2 separate regions of the Homo sapiens genome follow, and region 1 is linked to region 2. The links are contacts of gene promoters, found by promoter capture Hi-C in blood cells and fetal thymus (Javierre and others, 2016). All regions are on one chromosome and are shown on one strand. The core of a region is centred on a gene start or on the middle of the fragment in contact, and the rest is flanking DNA. Distances in the headings are between cores, read along the strand shown.

What was found. The method cuts DNA at HindIII sites, captures the fragments that hold promoters and counts their contacts. A CHiCAGO score of 5 or more calls a contact.
Region 1: a contact is called between a fragment that was not itself captured here and the fragment with the promoter of LOXL4 in region 2, in 1 of 17 cell types (naive B cells). The highest score is 5.7, in naive B cells.

What each region holds. Positions count from the first base shown.
Region 1 is chr10:99,231,487-99,234,633 of GRCh38, reverse strand. It overlaps HPSE2 (heparanase 2 (inactive)), which reads left to right. Exons shown (of 12, transcript NM_021828.5): 2 at 2,129-2,286. Among named protein-coding and RNA genes, the nearest start is that of HPSE2, 2.8 kb to the left of the region's middle. RefSeq lists a silencer at 353-472. The HindIII fragment of the contact is 1,234 bases long and covers 1,259-2,492 here.
Region 2 is chr10:98,266,563-98,269,473 of GRCh38, reverse strand. It overlaps LOXL4 (lysyl oxidase like 4), which reads left to right and starts at 1,280. Exons shown (of 15, transcript NM_032211.7): 1 at 1,280-1,342. LOC124902489 (a long non-coding RNA gene) reads right to left here and starts at 1,032. Exons shown (of 2, transcript XR_007062260.1): 1 at 1-1,032. RefSeq lists enhancers at 1,333-1,832, 1,833-2,334. The HindIII fragment of the contact is 15,496 bases long and covers 1-2,911 here.

The DNA.
Region 1 (3,147 bases), core at 626-3,125, 960 kb before region 2:
ACTCTTCCCGGGTTGTTGCAGTTTGGCAGTTAGGCAACTGCGATCCCTTCCCATCAGGGACAGAGTTGCAGTGTAAAATAAGAAATAAATCCTCTGCAATGTCGAATCCAAGTGTTGAGTTTTTAAAAATTCCCTACAAGTTGGAGCCTCAGCTGTGGGTTCCCCTCGAAGAGCCCTCAGCGCTCTCAGTCCCACTTTGCCCCGAGGCCAGGTCCGTTGTGCGTCCTTCGTATTTTTCACTCCTTGCGAAATTCGAGTTTTGCTTCTTGAGGTGCGCCCGCCTCTCAGCTCTTGGGGTTGTCCCCCTGGCCCGGGTCGGGTCTGCGGACGCGGCAGGTAGCGGGAGGCGCCACGTGGAGCGCTCCTTCCACGTGGAGGAAAGGTAGCCGGAGGACTGAGAGGCTGTAGCTGCCCTTGCCGAGGCCGTTTCGGTTCCTGTTGGTGCGGTTGCCGCGAGGGCGGAACAGCCAGCTCCGCGCGGCCCAGCTTCCTCTTCGAAAGCTCTTTCGTGCAGCAGAGCGCGTCTATGAGCTCGTCCGAATGTAGGGTGCAACGGAGTTTTCCGCAACGCTTGTCCCACTTTCATTGAACTCCTTCAGCTGCGCAGACCCCCTTTCCCCCACCAGCTTTCTTTCTTTTTTTAAAAAATCTGCCTGTTCGCCTAATGCTTTCCTGCCTCAGAAAAGAGTCTGGAAGGCAGATTTTCGGGGAAGAAGTCCTGGCGGGGCGCATTCGCATTGGCTGTGCAGGCTTCTGGATGAAAGGTTGTTGGAACTGCCCTTTCCCCAGGACCGGATTCGCGCGGACGTCTCCTTTGCCACAGTAGGCCCACGCGACGCCCTGACTGTGCCTGTCCTGGAGTGCGGTCCCGGAGACTTCTGCCAAACGACCATTCTGGTTACAAGACCCTGGGGTAGCCACGTCTCTTCTCAAAAAACTCTCCAAAAGCAGAGTCTGTTTTTTCTTTCTCGTATCCACCTCCTTTATGATGCTCTTTAACGTCACCATGTGGATTTGGGTTTTCAGAATCTGAAACAGTAAAGCGTTAAAAAATAATTTACAGACCCGGAACTCAACAGCTGATCCCCTCTGCATTATCAGTATCTGCATTGCTCCTTTTCTACTCCTTCCCAAAGCAGCAGCCTTTGGCTTTTAAAAAACCTATTGATGGAAATCCTGACCTTAAATAGATGCAAATGCTATTGTTTTGTGCTCATTTAGTATCCCATAACGCGCAGGTTCCACATTTCGGCAAGCTTCATTTTCCCTAGCGGTTCCAAACGGCCCCAAGTGGGAAAGAAGAAAGATGGAGCCTAACTCGGGGGTGGGGTGGGGAGGAGGATGTTACCTTTCCTGAGATCAGGCGGAATTATTTCAGGGGCCAAAGAGACTTTGCCTTTACTGTGTGTGTGTGTGGTGGTGGTGGTGGTGGTGCGGGAGTGGAGAAGTGTTCTTGGAAAGGCGAGGGTTTACCCTGGGGATCTCTCCGTCCGGGGATTTGGGAAACAATGCAGTTTTTACAATATAGTGAAAAAGGAAAATCAACTCGGACATTAAAAGAAAGAAAGTAGGAATCCACTTAAGCTCAGGCGCCGGGCCTGGTCTGAGAGAAACAAGGCAGGTTTCACCTCCTGCACGGAGGTTTGTGGGGCCCCTGGGGCTGCGGAGGCAATGCCGGCTTTCAGCATACAAGTTTTTGGCAACGGTCGGAAGCCAGAGGTAGGCGCGCCTAGCGCGTCTCCGCCCGGAGCGCTTTCCTGGCAGTGGCAGAAGCCGGGCAACTGCGCTTTAGCGCCGTGCTCGTAGCACGTACACCCACCCCATACAAACACTCTATGAACAAACACTATCTGTAGCCTTTAGGAGATCAGGATCTGGGTGTCTGCGGGAGGGGGCCGCTGCGGGCGTCTGGAAGCGGGAGGCACAGCCCCCAGAGCCGGGCGGTGAGGGCGGGCTGGGGCGCAGGGCAGCGGCCAAGGGCCAGCGTGGACTGCCGGCTGGGGCAGGCACAGAGCCTCTAGCCCCGGCCAGGTCGCCCTCAGGGAGTAGGAAGAGGGCCCTTCTCCGTGCCCCACGCGCTCTCGTCCTGTCCTGGGAACCTTTCCTCTCTTATTCTCTTCCTCTGCAGCTCCAAGCGCTTGGTGACCCTGGCCCGGGGACTTTCGCCCGCCTTTCTGCGCTTCGGGGGCAAAAGGACCGACTTCCTGCAGTTCCAGAACCTGAGGAACCCGGCGAAAAGCCGCGGGGGCCCGGGCCCGGATTACTATCTCAAAAACTATGAGGATGGTGAGAAACTTGATTACCATTCTTTATTTGGGGAGCGGAAGCAAGCACCCGCTGTGTTTGTGTATCTGTGTGTTCGTGTGTCTGTGTGTTCGTGTGTGTGTGTGTGTGTGTGTGTGTGTGTGTGTGTGTGTGTATGCGCGCGCGCGCGTTGGGGCAGATTTGGAGAGCCTGGTTGCACCTCGCCTGAAAATGAAAAGTTGGAAGCTTCAGATGAGGAGACACTGCAGTGTGGAACTCCTGACCTCATTGCGCAAAGGGGGTTCTCCAGGTTGTTCTCACCCAGCTGCCGGCCTTTTGCTGGGCGGCTGTCTTGGAGGCTGAGAGCTGGTAGCCCAAACTGCTTAACAGGCTGTTCCTGCGGGGTGTAGATGCAGCAGGTTTTTTGAGAAAATTCAGCCAGGTTCATAGATTATTAAAGGTCAGAGTCATATTTCATTGCTAAAATTCTAGGCAAAGTGCCTTTCTGTTTTTCTTATTTCTTGCCTTCCTGTGATTAGGGTACAGAAGGAATTCAGCCGTTTTTGAAACCCACTCTAAAGTTTTCTGGAATAATCCCTTTTAAATTGGTCCCTTGTTGAGGAAGGTTTGGAAATCTCCACAGTTAGTTCTTCTTCAGATTGCCTAATCTCAGAGTTGCATTTTTTTTTTTCTGTTTTAAAATGGGATTACAAATGCCAGCTTTCTTTCCTGACGGGATTAGATAAGTGTTGGAAGGGCTTTGAAAACTTGAAATCTTATTTCAATCTGAGAGGCCAATCTTTTTTGGTTTGAACGGTCTCATTTTTACTAGGGATAAAAAATGAAAATGCTATTGAAAATTTTTTGTTTAGAAGGTTAGGTGTTAACATCTATGAACTTCCT
Region 2 (2,911 bases), core at 31-2,530:
GGCAGGTCCCTGGCAGCAGGGTCATTAAGACCTGGCTGTCACCCAGGATCGAAAAGGTCCATCTTGACATCCTAGCTCTATCACACTCTGCCTGTCCAGGCTTATTCTTACTTGCACATCTGCCTCCCCCACCAGACTGGGAAGGCCCCCTCCAGCGTCTAGCACTCCAGCACCCTGTCTAGCATGTAGGAGAAAATCAATAAAGGCTTGTGGGATGAATGAACCTTTGGAAGGACGTTTAGGCAAGGTGGGGGCAAGAGGGGGAACCAGGTTGGGCAGCTGTGGGCCTAGGGAGGAAACCGGGAGGCTGGAACCCTCTGCCCATTTTACAGATGGGGCCAGTGAGGCTAAGGGCAGGACCAGGTCTAGGGGAAAGAAACTGGGGGCTTGGACTGGGGTTCAGGCACCTAGGTGCTCAGTTCAGCTGATGGGACTCCTCTCTGTCAGCCATGTCCACATTTCTTTAATTCTACAGTCCCTGCTCCCTGCACTAACACCCTCCTCCCGTGAGTCTGACAAGGGCCAGGACTGCATCATTCAGCTCTGTGAAGGGGTTCTCCCATTCACTGTGTATTGCCTGGAGGAGCAAGTTATGTCGCCTGGGGCTCAGTGTTCCCAGCTGCACAATGGGCAGCGCAGAGTTTCACACGGAGGGCGGGGGGGGGGGGGGGGGCGGTATTCAGTAAACTCTGGGTGACTCGCCTGTTCCTGCAGGAGAGCACCGCTGCACCGCGCCACCTCGACCTCTCTGAACTGAGCCCCGGCCTCCCAGAAAGGGCGTCTACATTGTCCTAAGTGACCGAGCTCGTGAGATTCGGCCCCTGTGACAGCCGGGCGCTCCCGTGCGAAGGGTGCTGTGCCGGGGGCCCTGGCACCCACCAGGACTCACAGACTGGGACTCTAGGTGGGCGTCATTACCTTGTTCTGCAAAAGAGGAAACTGCCTGGGAGAGGGACTCCCGAGGCCGCCGCGGCCCTCCCTGCAAAACAGCCGCGGGCCCAGCGCCGCCCTTTCCCGAGAGCTCCGCTCCCCGCGACCCCCCGCCGCCCCCCCGCTCCCCCCGCCCCCCGGGACTTCCCGGCCCCGCCGGCTGCGGCTGGGCGCCCCCGCCACCTGGCCTGTGTCCCGACGGGGGGCGCCGCGCGGAAGGCCGGGCGGGGCGCCCGCGGACTCCAGGCCCGCCCGGGGCGGGGCCTGCGGGGCCTCCTCCGCGGCCAGCTCGGGGCTGGGGGGCCGCGGGCGGGAGGCGGATAAAAAGGCCCCAGGGCGCCCGGGGAGGGAGCCCGTTAGCGCTGCTCCGCCGCGGCGCCCGCCCAGCCCCGGACTGTCCGCGCTCCATCTGGTGAGCCCCCGCCTGGCCGCGCGTCTGCCTCTTGGTCTGCCTCTTGCTGTCCCATCTGTCCTTCTGTCTCTCTGTGAGTCTGCAGGCCTCTGAGGGTTCCTGGAGACTGGGCCTAGGGTGCATGGGGGATCCCTTGGACCCTCAGCCCGGCCCTCCAGTCGCTCACCAACCTGCTTCCAACTGGACAAGTGACCACGCTGGGGAGCTTGGCCCAAGGCCCGCCCTGAGTGGTGCGCCCAGGCCTCAGGGGTGCCTGCGTGTCTTGTTTGTGTACACGCCGTGTGTAACCATTGCTCTGCCTTCTTCCAGGGAGGAGACAGGGAAGGGGCAAGGCGGGTTCAGATGTCACACTTACGACTTGGGGGACAACGAACCAGGGCTGATCTGGGCTCTCCAACTATCCAGACCGGAGCTGATTATGTTGGGGGGTCGGCGTGTGACAGAAACACCGAAGGGAAGGGGGCAGAAGACTTCAAGCCCCCTCTTTCCTAGCCTGGACAGGTACAGCTCAGAGACCATTTGTTGGCACTGCTTCAGGTCCACAGAGTCAGTAACCCCGGGGAGGCTACAGGGCTGAGAGGAGGCTGCTGAGAAGAGCTGCCCAACGGCAGAGAAGGGATGAGCCATCCTAAAGTTGCTGCACCCTCAGGACAGCACCCCCCATGCTCTCTCTTGAATACTCGGGCATTTGCTGTCTTCAGCCCTCCCTACCTGCGCTAGGTCAGGCCAGGTCCCAGCATCTCCTGGCACACCTGGAGCAGGTGCCTCTGTGCCTCAAGCTGGCAAGATCTTGGATCTGTCACTCGGCATTCAGCGAAGAGCACCCTGCCCAGTGCCCTCACACCACGGCCTGGGTCATAAATCCACCAGAACAGGGTGGAATTTCAGTCGGCTCCCGGCCTTCCTTTCCTCCTCCCCCTCTTCCAACATCCATTCTTGGTGGTTTTGAGAGTCCGGCGTCTAGCCAGGCTGCTTGGGTTTGAATCCTGGCTGGGCAAGTTACTTGACTTCCCTGGACCTTACCTTCTCATCTGTAAAATGGAGATAAGTATTTAATCCGTATTTTAAAATGTATAGTTATTATCCTCACTTCCCTCCCCTCCTCTTTCCCTTCCACCTTCCTTCCCTCTTCTGTCCCCTTCTCCTTTATTTGGGAAAGTAACGGCCACTTTCGAGGCCGCTTCCTTCTCTGAGGGAGGATGCACAGCTTGGTCCTCTGTGCTCAGTGCTAGGGGAACAGACAGGTGGAGTCTGGTTGTGGGGTCAGGAAGCAAACACACAATGTGCTTTGTGGAAGGCTTTGTGGGAGGGCTTAATGGAGGGGGTGGCATTTGAGCTGGCCTTGTGGGATGTGTAGGAGTTTAACAGTCTTAGATAGAGGGAAAGGAACAGTGAGAGCAAAGGCTTGGAGGCTGGGAGACGAAGGCTATAGTCTGGTGTGAGCAAAAGCTCTCGGGGGCCTATAGTGGGCAGGAAGGCCAATAAGAGGGACTCTCCCTGCATCTAACTCTTGGTTCCCGCTGCCGTCCCCCCACCTTCCAGCAGCGTTCATGGAAGGGAGCTTCCCTG